Regions from separate parts of the Homo sapiens genome. Here region 2 is linked to region 1. The links are contacts of gene promoters, found by promoter capture Hi-C in human tissues and cell types (Jung and others, 2019). All regions are on one chromosome and are shown on one strand. Each heading gives the region's core, a stretch centred on a gene start or on the middle of the fragment in contact. The rest is flanking DNA. Distances are from core to core; before and after follow the strand shown.

Region 1 (6,369 bases), core at 1,186-3,685:
CCATCCTGAAGCTTTCGGTCAATCACTAACATACAAAAAGCCAAAGGCTGGGTGCAGTGGCTCACGCCGGTAATCCCAACACTTTGGGAGGCCGAGGCAGGCAGATCACCTGAGGTCAGGAGTTCGCGACCAGACTGGCCAGTATGGTGAAACCCCGTCTCTACTAAAAAAAACAAATACAAAAATTAGCCGGGCGTGGTGGCGCGTGCCTGTAGTTCCAGCTACTCGGGAGGCTGCGGCAGAAGAACTGCTTGAACCCGGGAGGCAGAGGTTGCAGTGACTGGAGATTGCGCCACTGCACTTCAGTCTGGGCGACAGAGAGAGACTCCATCAAAAAAAAAAAAAAAAAAAAAAAAAAAAAAAAAAAGCCAGCACTTAAGAGATTCCAAGGACTTTAGGAGTTGTATGCGAGGAAATAGGGACAAAGACCAAATCTGTATTTGAGAAAATCACAGAACCGTATGAGTATTTAATTCAATACAGACATGGAAACTGGCCCAAGCATTTACTCACAGATGACTGGGCAAATCCCTGGTGTTATTGGTACAAACTATTGATCGAGCCCCCAATCTCATTCCTACCCCTAAAATATAGCAAAGTGAAAGATCTTATCACTTATTTGGACTGAGATTAACACCATCCCATAAACTGCATGGCTTTCAATCCCAGGGCTATGGCGTGTGATGCCACATAGAATATGCACTAATCTCTGCAGCAATTGAGTTGTTAGGGTAAAGGCTCTTGTTTTTGCCTTCTTTCTCTCACGGCCAAGAAAATTAAGGAACAGGGACACAAAGGATGAGGTCGGAGCGGAAGTTTAATAAGCAAAAGAAGAAAGCTCTCCCCAGCGGAGGGACCCAAAAGAGGGTTGCCAACTAGGAGGCTGAATCTGGGGGGGTTTATTAACTGGGAAGGGGAGGAACGTGGGCTGTCTTGAAGAAAGCACTACCCAGCTTGGCCCTGGGACCTTAGCCCGGGACCAATCCCAGGCTGAAGTGAAAGTTTGGCCCAGGACCAATCAGGGGCTGAAGTGAAAGTTTGGCCCGGGACCAATCAGGGGCTGAAGTGAAAGTTTGGCCCGGGACCAATCAGGAGCTGAAGTGAAAGTTTGGCCCGGGACCAATTAGGGGCTGAAGTGAAAGTTTGGCCCGGGACCAATCAGGAGCTGAAGTGAAAGTTTGGGCCGGGACCAATCAGGAGCTGAAGTGAAAGTTTGGCCCGGGACCAATCAGGGGCTGAAGTGAAAGCTTGGCCCGGGACCAATGAGGGGGTGAAGTTATGATTCAAAGAGGCCGCGCTCACAGTCTAAAGCATGTCCAAAAAAGGAAAGTGGCCGCCGGAACCTGTTAGTCCAAGCTGCACCGTTTCGTAAGCCCCCACCATTTCACAGACCCTGGTCAGAGGGAAACATTCCACCCGGGTTTGGGCTGTGCGAAACATCCTTCCCAACCGCCTGACTTCCTTATCACATCCTGCTGGGCAAAAGCCCAAGAAACATCCTTATCAACTTTCTCCCAGGCAACAAGCCATACCGCCCAGACCCCTCCTGCCCAGGCCTGTAATTACCCCAGCCTGGAAGCGGCAGTGGGCTCTGGCATTTAGTTGGTCCCCGCCATAGAGCCGCCAACTCTCTCTCTTTCTTTAACCCTCGCCTTCCCTTCAAAATCTAACAGAGCCCACCGTGTACATGCCCACAAAAGAAGCGACTATTTCGTGGAAGCCCGCTGGTCACACAAAGGACAAAGGCGTTTCTATGTTGGGCCTCGGTCCCTTATCAGTGCAGCTGAGGAATGTCTTCAGGACAACCCCCCTGTGGAGTTTTCCTTATGTATGCCTGCAGCCTGATTTTTCAGGCTGTTTCTCTGTTTAAAGGACTTTTACCAAGGTCCCACCCTAACTGCCTAAAGAGTTTTTTCTCTCAAGGGGACACACAAAGTCCCAATCGCACACATGCCTCCGCATATCCACTTACCCACTGCCTCACAGCCAATCACACTCTCCTCTCTCACATACACCAAGGGGCCACACAAGTTGCACTTGCACAGCCACAGACCTGCAACTCACGCACACAAGGTACTGCACAGACACGCAAAGTCACACACCCACCCCGGGACACGCAGTCCAACCACACAGTCACCGGTTCTTCACATCCGCACGCACAACGAGGGTCGTCCAGGACACACACACCCACTCCGGGCGCGCACAGTCACAAGCGCCCACCTGATCACCCAGAGTCAGCACCACACAGCCACAGTCACAGACCACGGAGACCCACGGCAGCCATCGCGATCACACACGCAAACTCCTCTCCTCAGCCCTCCACACACAAAAGGACCGGAGCCGGATTCCTCACCCTCAGCATTCTCTGGTTCCGCTCGGGGCCAGCCTAGCCAAGTTCCTCAGGACTCCAAGGCGCGGCGGCAGCTAAATCGGCACAGCAAACGGTCCCGCCACCTGGCTAAGAGGAAGCCAAAATCTCGCGAGACGTGGCGTCGGCCTGCGGGATCCTCTGGGAAATGTAGTCCAGAGCCCGACTGCGGGCTTCCCTATGCCTCTCATTTCCAAGCCTGGCTTGTTTCCTTTTACCGCTCCTCTCCAACGAGGATCGCAGAGCCCTCATGCCGAGCGGCTCGCTATGGGGCCGGCTCGCCCGCTAGAGTGGTCAGGCCTGATTATCCCTGGCAGCTCTGTTATCTGGGGTAAGACACAGGAAAACGTGCTTCCGGTTCTCGGCGGAAGTAGCCCCGAACGGTAGAACCGATGGGAAATGTAGTCCAGGGCAGAAAAGCGGTCAACCCAGCCACGATGCGAGCCAAAGGATTCTTGGCTCCAAGCCTGGTCCTGGCTGTTAGTTTGGAACTCATGCACCCAGATGCTAACTCGCCCTCAGAATGCAGAGGGGATGAAACACTGACCGGACAATTCAATCTGTATATGGGTGAGTCCAGGGCTCAGTCTGCATTGCGCGGAAAATGAAGGTGAAGGTGGAGGTGGGACCTGATGGTCTCGTCCCGGATAGGGTTGAAGAAGTGGGAGAAAAGGAATCAAAATCGTGGATGGGATAAGATTGTGCGCGAATGCTCTCTGGGAGCGGATCGTGGCCGACGAGGGCCCGAAGATGCTGCCTTGTGATCGCAGGTGTGAGTGGAAGCTGTGTGAGTGTCAATGTGAGTTGCCTGTTTGGGAGACCAGCATTGTATTTTTGTATCAGGTAGTAACCTTGGAGCCAGGTATTTGTAAAATTATGATAAGAGGGCATCATTCTGGAGCATCGATTTTATTTGGAGGTTGACAGGAGAGGGAAAAAAACCCCTAATATCTGATAAACAACATAAATAGATTTTTATGTTAAAGTAGTTATATTTATTACGGTCTAGAATGCAAATCCAACATGGCTTTTAAAGCAAGAAAGATTTTTTTTATACAAAGTCAAAGGTATTATTTTTATACACTTACTACAAAACATACAAATAGTATACCAAGCCTAAGAATATAAAGAGTCTAGCTTTAATTAATTGAATGTAAATTTAAAAACAAGCATCTAATAAGTAGTCCTTTTCACACATCGAAAAGCCAATTTCGGAATTTTTTTAAAAACTCAAATTACAAAGTAACAAATATCTGGTGTCTTAGTAACTTGAAGATCAGTACTAATGATTAAGCCAGCTTATATGCTAATATGATACATGAAAAAGCCTGTATTTCACAAATAGCAAACCACTAAAACTTTAATTTTCCACAGAAGCCATTGTTTCACACCAATAATTATGTTAAAGATCAAGACAGGCTAAAAGTTTTTAATGAGCACTGAATCCATTAAAACTTGGCAAATTTTTCCACGAAGGTAGAATTTTAATTTCTGTTTAAACCATGGGTAGATGGTACACCCTTGTGAGGGTGTACTGTAAGTACTTCTAAGGAGCTTTATCAGACTTCATCCCAAATTATGTACCTAGTAAAAGATGTACCAATGTCTACTTTGGAATAAGAAATTATTCCTTGTTTGAGCAAGGATTAAGCAGAAACTGAAAGAAGTGTAGTTTATAGCTTCTTACATAAAGTAGATGGGCACCCCTCAAAAACAAACCAATATCCTGGCTCCTTAAATATCAACATTAATCTAAATAATGTATAGCATGCTCCTGTCCAATCTTTCCCGCTCATTTGTAGTCTTCTCAGATCGATGCTTCATTTTAGTCACACATTTCTATCCTGCAAGACTGGGTACCTGGGCTTTTTGTCTGGTTTTGTAACACTAGGCAGTTTTGGCCTTACTCAAAATATAAGACTGCAAAAGGCCTGTTTTACCTCAACCATACGGCTTCAGGAAATGGTCTGTATTTCCAACAGAAAAGTGGTATCTAACTCTCAGGATGGTTTCTAACAACTGGATAGATACCTGGGTCTTTGCGGCCTGTGATGCAGCCTAACAATACAGGACCTTGTGTGATCAGCTAGGTCTGCTAAAGCAAGGGGACATCCATGTTCTAGATTTTTATTTATTTATTTTTTTTTGAGACGGAGTCTTGCTCTGTCGCCCAGGCTGGAGTGCAGTGGCGTGATCTCGGCTCACTGCAAACTCCGCCTCCCGGGTTCAAGCCATTCTCCTGCCTCAGCCTCCTGAGTAGCTGGGACTACAGGCGCCCGCCACCACGCCCGGCTAATTTTTTGTATTTTTCGTAGAGACGGGGTTTCACCGTATTAGCCAAGATGGTCTCGATCTCCTGACTTCGTGATCCGCCCGCCTTGGCCTCCCAAAGTGCTGGGATTACAGGCGTGAGCCACCTCGCCCGGCCCATGTTCTAGATTTTTTATTCTGGTTTAGCAGGATCCAAACTGCCTGTCCTGAAGAGACTCTCTTTCTCTTCCATACAACGGCTGGCCTCTACCAAGTTAACTGCTTCGTGGGGGGAAAATATTGCCTTTCCTTTGGTCTGCATGTTTTAAGGGAAATACCAAATACACCTACAGGAGTTTATCAATAATAGACAAGGCTGATTTCAAACTCTTTCAGGAGATAAACTGGAGGGGAAGACGAATGGCAGGAGGGTGAAGAGGAAACTGAATTACTGTGCAAACACCCGCCACTCAAATCCGGGTGGTTACTGCAGAGTGAATAACGATAGGTACTATTTCGTGTAAGGCAAAGTCCTTTGAAAGGGCTCCTAGAGCGTCAAGGCCTCCACCTGATGAATGAATGAGTCAGGCAGGCCCAGCTCCACTTCACGGATGGGAAAACTGAGGTACGAGGCCTCGCTGAAAGATGCGAGGCAGAGCGGAGAACCAGAAGCACCACTTCTCTCAGGCTGATGCTCTAATCTCGGCTCCCCCCGCCCCTACAATGGCGTAGACGGCCTCCGCCGCCCGACTCACACACACCCTCCCCCGGGAACGGCAAGTCTCCTCGGGTTCCAAGGACAGGGTCAAAAGACAAGAGGCCCGAGGCGCTCCCGCCGTGATTTGCAGCCAGATACCGTTGGGAGCGCAGCCAGAGAGCGTTGGGAGCGTGCGTACCTCCAGCCCAACATGGCGGCGGCAGCGGCCGCCCCCGACCCCAAGCCCTCCCTCAGGGCCCGAGGCTTCTCCTCAGGGCCTTCCGGTGGGCGGGAAGACAGCGCAACCCCGCCAGGCCTTTCTCGTCGCTGCGCCTGCTCGCTGAAGGAGTCACCTACCCGACGAGACTAACGGCTGCGGCGCGGAAGCCCCACAGCCCGCCGAGAACCAGGAATACGAGAGCCAGGCGGCGCGGCGGCGGGACCTGTACTGAGCAAGAAAGAAGATTTCAAAGTAATTTATTGTTATGAGATCCGTGCTTTTATCTTGTCTCAGACTCCCAATGATAGGCACATACTCTCCTCTGTACATTTAATGAAACTACTAAAATATTTCGATTTAAATCTTCCACCTATTTGTTTTCTGTGTATCCTACCTGTTCCCGACCTTGACATTTTCAAAGAATACAGGTTACTTATTTTGTTTTTTGGTGGTGGTGAGTTTTTTTGGGGTTTTGTTTTTTGGTTTTTGGTTTTATTTTTGGAGACAGGGCTTTGCTGTATCGCCCAGGCTGGAATACAGTGGCGCGATGATAGCTCACTGCAGCCTCGAACTCCTGGGCTCAAGGGACCCTCCTGCTTCAGCCTCCCGAGTAGCTGGGACTACAGGCCTGCGCCACCACGCCCGGGTAATTTTTTATTTTTTGTAGAGATGGGGTGTTCTATGTTGCCCAGTGTGGTCTCAAACTCTTGGGCTCAAGAGATCCTCCCACTTCTGCTGCCCAAAGTGCTAGGATTACAGGCATGAGCCACCGCGCCGGGACAGTTATTTTGTAGAGTGTTCTTTAATTTGGATGTACCTCATCTTTTATGTATC
Region 2 (6,369 bases), core at 2,442-4,941, 710 kb after region 1:
CTTAAATTTTAGTTGAGGAGGGTGAAGAACAGGCAATGAATAAAATAATTAAGTGCAGTGGAGAAAAATAAAGGAGGGTTAGGAAATAGGGAATTGGGGTGGAAGCAGTGCTATTTTATACTGGAATAATCTGAGATATACAAAGGCCCTGAGTACAAATATGATAACATGGTTACATATTTGAGGATGTAATATCAGAGAGAGCCCAGTGTGCCTAGGGCAGAGGAAATGAGGTGAATATGGTAAGAGATAAGGTTCTTCCATTTATTTCATTTCAGGAGTTGGTGACCTTCAGAGATGTGGCTGTAGACTTCTCCCAAGAGGAATGGGATTGTCTGGATTCTTCTCAAAGACATCTGTACAGTAATGTGATGCTAGAGAACTACAGGATCTTGGTATCACTGGGTAAGGATATCTTCTTGCAAAACTGAGCTTCTGCTCAAAAGGGGCTCTTTGCTACCACTATTGTGAATTTTTGGATAATATCTGCAAAATTTGGCTGAATGTCTGCTGCCTATGCCAAACAAATGGCTTAGTGTTTGTGGATTTGGCAGTGAACATATTCTTGGCCTGTGCCTGAAGCTTCATCTTCCTTATCCTTCTAATACATGTCCTTTACACATTTCTCTTTTTGCTTACTGTAAACTCCCTTTTCCCTGATGAGCTAAGGATTGAATGTGAGTTCTGGAATATCCACAGCATGACAAAACTCTACTTTTTTTTTTCGTATTTGCAGGACTTTGCTTTTCCAAACCAAGTGTGATATTATTGTTGGAACAAGGAAAAGCACCCTGGATGGTGAAGAGAGAGCTGACAAAAGGCTTGTGCTCAGGTTAGTGAAGAGGAAATTGGCAAAAATCTTTGCACGTGACAGCTCAGCTTGACTCAAAGGTATCACCTCTTCACTCTTCAGGCTTCCAAATTCTTCTCAAATGTTCTAGGTTTTCATAAAAATTTGGGGCCATTTAGGATGTTCTCCCACATTTGTTATTTTTAATTATTTCCCTTCTCTTACTTTCCTATCTCCTTTCTAACAAGTCCCATCCCCTCTCAGTTTCATAAGCCTCTCAGTCTTTAAAAAATCTTGTAGTAGTCTTATAAACTTTTTTTTTTTTTTTTTTTTTTGTGACAGAGTCTCGCTCTGTCACCCAGGCTGGAGTGCAGTGGTGCAGTCTCGGCTCACTGCAAGCTCCGCCTCCCGGGTTCAAGCAATTCTCCTGATTCAGCCTTCCCAGGAGCTGGAATTACAGGCACATGCCACCACGCCCAGCTAATTTTTGTATTTTTAGTAGAGACAGGGTTTCTCCATGTTAGGCTGGTCTCAAACTCCTGACCTCACGTGATCTGCCTGCCTCAGCCTTCCAAAGTGCTGGCATTACAGGCATGAACCACTGTGCCTGGCCTCTTATAAATTTTTGAGCTCTACAGAGCATCAGAAGTGTAGGCAGCCTTGGGGACTGAGTCCTCAACCTGAGGGATCTGATGCTATCTCCAGGTAGACAGTATCAAAATAGAGCTGAGGTAGAGGACACCCACTGCAGAATTCATTGCTTGCTTGTTGGTGGAGAGAAACCCCCACATTCAGTCACAGAAGCCTTCTGTGTTTATTGTTGTGGTGCGAGAGAAAAGGAAAAACAGGTTGCATGTGTGATTTTTCCTAAGGTGCTCATTGTGGGGGAGGTTGTCGTGTGTGTGTGTGTGTGTGTGTGTGTGTGTGTGTGTGTGTGTGTATTTGTAACTTTTTTTTTTTTTTTTGAGACAGAGTCTCGCTCTGTTGCCCAGGCTGGAGTACAGTGGCATGATCTCGGCTCACTGCAACCTCTGCCTCCTGGGTTCAAGTGATTCTCCTGCCTCAGCCTCCCCAGTAACTGGAACTACAGGCACCCACCACCACGCCTGGCTAATTTTTTTGTATTTTTAGTAGAGACGAGGTTTCACCATGTTGGCCACGCTGGTCTCCAACTCCTGATCTCAGGTGATCCGCCAGCCTCAGCCTTCCAAAGTGCTGGGATTACAGACGTGAGCCACTGCACCCAGCCTGTAGCTTATGTTTTTGATACTTTAAGAAACCTTTCTATGTTCTGAGTTCATATAGATATCTGAAAATAGTCTTTTAAAGATTGTCCTTTTATATGTAGGTCCATAATCCAATTGGAACTTATTTTTGAGGATTATTTTAAATAAGAATTTAATTTCTGTATCTTATGGAAAACCAAAGGTCCCAGATATTTTTTGAATAAGTGTTCCCTCTGCCTGTTTTTCTGAATGTTACCTCTTAATATACCAGGTTTTAGTCTATATATGGGTTTGACTTTAAGCTTTATTCAGTTTCATTGATCTCTGTTTCCTTATACCAGTACCACACTGTCTTAATAAAAATAGTTTATTAGAAGGATAATTATCTGCTAGGGAAAATCTCTACAGCTTGTTTAAATTCTTTAGAATTTCTTGTTTGCCCTTTGGACATCAATATAAAGTTTAGGGTCAACTTGTAAATTTCTATCAGAAAACAACAAAATGCTGTTAACTTTTGATTCAAATTTTAACTTTTGATTCAAATTTTATTTATTCTGTAATCAATTCTGGAAATTTTAAAAATTCATTAACATGGTATAGCTCTCCATTTATTTAGGTTTTTTCACTTTTTTCAGTGTTTTATAATTTTCTCCAAAAAAGGCTTTGCACATCTTCTGTTAGATTAAATTGTAAACATTAAACATATTAGTTTTGTTGCTGTGTTAAATGTTATCTATATTTTCTGTTTGTTGCTCATATATAGAAATGAAATTAACTTCGTATGCATTGGCCTTATATCCAGCAACCTTGCCAATCTCTCCTGTTAATAATATTTTTAAATATGTTTGGATTTTATGTATGAGTAGATATATTTGTGAATAATGGTAGTTTCTTCATTTTCAATTCTTATACCTTAATTTATTTTTCTGTTGCCTTTGTCGTATCTCCAGTATAATATGAATCGAAGTAGTGATAACAGGCATTCTTGTCCACTTCCGGTCTTAATAAGAATACTTTAGCATTTTGTTTTTTAATAATTTTGATGCTTAAAAGTTTTGGTACATACCCTTTCATTCCTGTTTGCTAGAGTTTCATTGTGGAAAGCTTTTGAGTTTTAACAAATGTTTTTCTCCATCTGTGGGTGATTTTTACCTCTTAATAGGTTTTAGTTTTTCACATCTTAATGTGGTAAATTACATACATTTTCAAATGTTGAACCAACATTGCATTCCCAAGTTAAACCCATCTTTATATCTTTTCCACTTTTTGCTAGTTGCTGTTTGCCAATATTTTGTTTGGGTGTTTTGCATCTGTATTTATTAGTGAATTTGATCTTCAGTTTTCCTTTCTTGTCAGATTTCGGAATCAAGGTTGATTAGTCTCGTAAATTCTCTTTTTCTTCTTTAGAAACATTTGTGTAAAATAAAAATTATTTGTTTTTTGAATGTTTGGTAGAACTTTGTTCATTTTGGCTTGGAATTTTTATTGTTAAAAGAATTTAAACTAATCATTCAATTTGATATGTTCTAAAATTCTAGGTTTTCTATTTCTCCTAGAGGCAATTAGGGTATTTTTTTCTAAATATTTTTAGTTTTGATGTAAGTTTTCAAACTTATTAGATGAAGTTGTCCATTATTTTTCTGGTTCTCAATGATTTCTTGATCCGTGAATTATTTAGAAGTTTGAAATTGAAGGCTTTTGTTTGGTACTTGTTTAATTGTATTATGGTTAGAGAATGGGATCTCTTCAATATACATTTATTGAAAGTATTTTGAGACTTGCTTTATTTCTTAGGGCTAGTTTTGGTAAATATTCTTTGTGTCCTTGAAAATAATATGTATTTTCTGGTTGTTGAATACAGTGTTTGATATTTGCTCATTAGGTTAAGCTCATTAACTGTGCTGGTCAAATCTTCTGTGTCCTTATGAATTTAAAAAAAATGTCTTTGAGCCATCAATTACTGAGAGACATGTTAAAGAAACTTCTACTCTGGTGGTAAATACATAAATTTTTTTCTTGTAATTGTAACAGCAGTTTTTTTTATATTTTGAAGGTATTTCATTTGGTCATATGTTTTTAGAATGTTTTATTTTTCTAGTGAATTCTTATATTATTGTTACTCTCTTTAATTCTAGTGACTATCTGATTAAGCAAAAAGAATTCACTTAATATTGTTATAGCTATATTTGCCTTTTGTTAATATTTACTTGATGTAGTTTTTTCCTACTCCTTTATTCTCCGGCTTGCTGTGTGTTTCTCTTATAAGCAGTATTTGGATAAACATTTTTTAAAATCCAGTCTGATAACCTTTATCTTTTAACCAAATGATGGTGGTGGTCAGTTAAATTTTTTGGTACTATTAATAGATTTGGATTTATTTTCCACTACCTCACTTTCTTTTATAAATTGTGCCTTTTCAAATTTTTCTTATTTCTTGGTTTTTCTCCATCTCCTAATTTGAATGTTTTACAATCTATTTCTATTCTGTACTGGTTACCTTAGAAAATCTAACATTTATAGTCACCTTAACAAAACCTAAAATTAATTCTAATCTTTATATTTGACCACTAAAAATACAAGAACGTAGCCAGGCACGGTGGCTCACGCCTGTAATCCCAGCACTTTGGGAGGCCGAGGCGGGTGGATCACGAGGTCAAGAAATCGAGACCAGCCTGGCTAACATGGTGAAACCCCGTCTCTACTAAAAATACAAAAATTAGCTGGGCGTGGTGGCATGCACCTGCAGTCCCAGCTACTTGGGAGGCTGAGGCAGGAGAATCGCTTGAACCCAGGAGGTGGAGGTTGCAGTGAACCAAGATCGTGCCACTGCACTCCAGCCTGGGCAACAAGAGCAAAACTCCATCTCAAAAAACAAAACAAAACAAAACACCAAGAACCTTAGACTGTCTTAACTTCACTTACCCTCATTTCAGTTATTCCTTGCTTTTCTTAAATTATTATTTTGCTTTATGAAGTTGTATAATAGACCATTATTATATTTATTTAATTTAGACCATATTATATTTAGTGTTGTTTAGATTTATCCACTTTTGGCTAGGTGTGGTGGCTTATGGCTGTAATCCCAGCACTTTGGGAGGCCAAGGCAGGTGCATCACTTCAGTCTAGGAGTTTGAGACCAGCCTGGGCAGCATGGTGAAACCCCGTCTCTACAAAATGCGAAAATTAGCTGGGTATGGGGTGTGTGCCTGTAGTTCCATTTACTTGGGAGGCTGAGGTGGGAGGGTCGCCTGAGCCCAGGAGTTCAAGGTACAGTGAGCTGAGAACGTGCCACTGCACTACCGCCTAGGTGACAGAGCAAGGCTCTGTCTCAAAAAAAAAAACAAAACAAAAAATTATCCATGTTTGTCATTTTCCCTGTTCACCATTCTGTCCCAGAACTTTTTCCTGAAGTAACTTCTTTATAAATATTTATATACTATTCATATCAACTTTTATTGTTGTTATGTTTTGTTCATTTATATGATAGTTTTGCTGTCATGCATAGAAGAAGCTTTCTCTGTCAGTCATAGATTGACAGATTTTTTTTTTTTTTGAGATGGAGTCTTGCACTGTCACCCGGGCTGGAGTGCAGTGGTGCAATCTCGGCTCACCGCAACCTCCCCAACCCGCGTTCAAGCAATTCTCCTGCCTCAGCCTCCCGAGTAGCTGGGATTACAGGGCGTGCCACCACGCCTGGCTAATTTTTTGTATTTTTAGTAGAGATGGGGGTTTCACTATGTTGGCCAGGCTGGTCTCAAACTCCTGAGCTCGTGATCTGCCCGCCTCAGCCTCCCAAAGTGCTGGGATTACAGGCGTGAGCCATTGTGCCCGGTGACAGATTATTTTTATGAGTGCTTTAAAGATACCATTCCATGCTTTTCTGGCTTCTGTTCTTGCTTTTGAGAAGTCAGTTTTCATTAATATATTCTTCCTTGCAACTTTTAAGAACTTTCTTCTTCTTGCCCTGGTTATTCTGTATTTTCAATGTGATGTATCTAGATGTAAATTTCAGCTGCTGTAGTTGGGATTTATTGTGATTTTTTTTATCTGACCATTAATGGACTCTGGGTAATTATCAGCTATTATCTCTTCACATATTGTCACTTTCCCATTCTCTGTGTTTATTTTTCTTAAAACTCCAGTTACATGTGCCTAAGACCAGACTCACCAGGGATAAATTGATGCTCCCAGCTTCAGTTCCACCTTACTTACTTGAAAGTGCCTTCCACAGTCTGTTTGACCTCTGAGAGTTTACCTTAATTTCTTGCCAGCTTGGTAATGCAGCTAAAAGAAAGTTTTTCTATTTCTACAAAATTGTAAGCTTTTTTGTACCAGGAAGATTTGTCATTATAA

The links. The method cuts DNA at HindIII sites, captures the fragments that hold promoters and counts their contacts. A contact is called where the count stands out against the background at its distance.
Region 2: a fragment that was not itself captured here is called in contact with the fragment with the promoter of ZNF850 in region 1 in 2 of the 25 tissues and cell types used here (adrenal gland and dorsolateral prefrontal cortex).

Annotation. Positions count from the first base shown.
Region 1 is chr19:36,770,372-36,776,740 of GRCh38, forward strand. ZNF850 (zinc finger protein 850) reads right to left here and starts at 2,436. Exons shown (of 5, transcript NM_001193552.2): 1 at 2,354-2,436. LOC728485 (a long non-coding RNA gene) reads left to right here and starts at 2,782. Exons shown (of 2, transcript NR_164117.1): 1 at 2,782-3,138; 2 at 5,015-6,369. RefSeq lists a silencer at 1,976-2,270 and enhancers at 2,257-2,396, 2,537-2,696. The HindIII fragment of the contact is 7,262 bases long and covers 630-6,369 here.
Region 2 is chr19:37,475,603-37,481,971 of GRCh38, forward strand. ZNF570 (zinc finger protein 570) reads left to right here. Exons shown (of 5, transcript NM_144694.5): 3 at 279-405; 4 at 737-832. Among named protein-coding and RNA genes, the nearest start is that of ZNF570, 9.4 kb to the left of the region's middle. The HindIII fragment of the contact is 4,482 bases long and covers 1,451-5,932 here.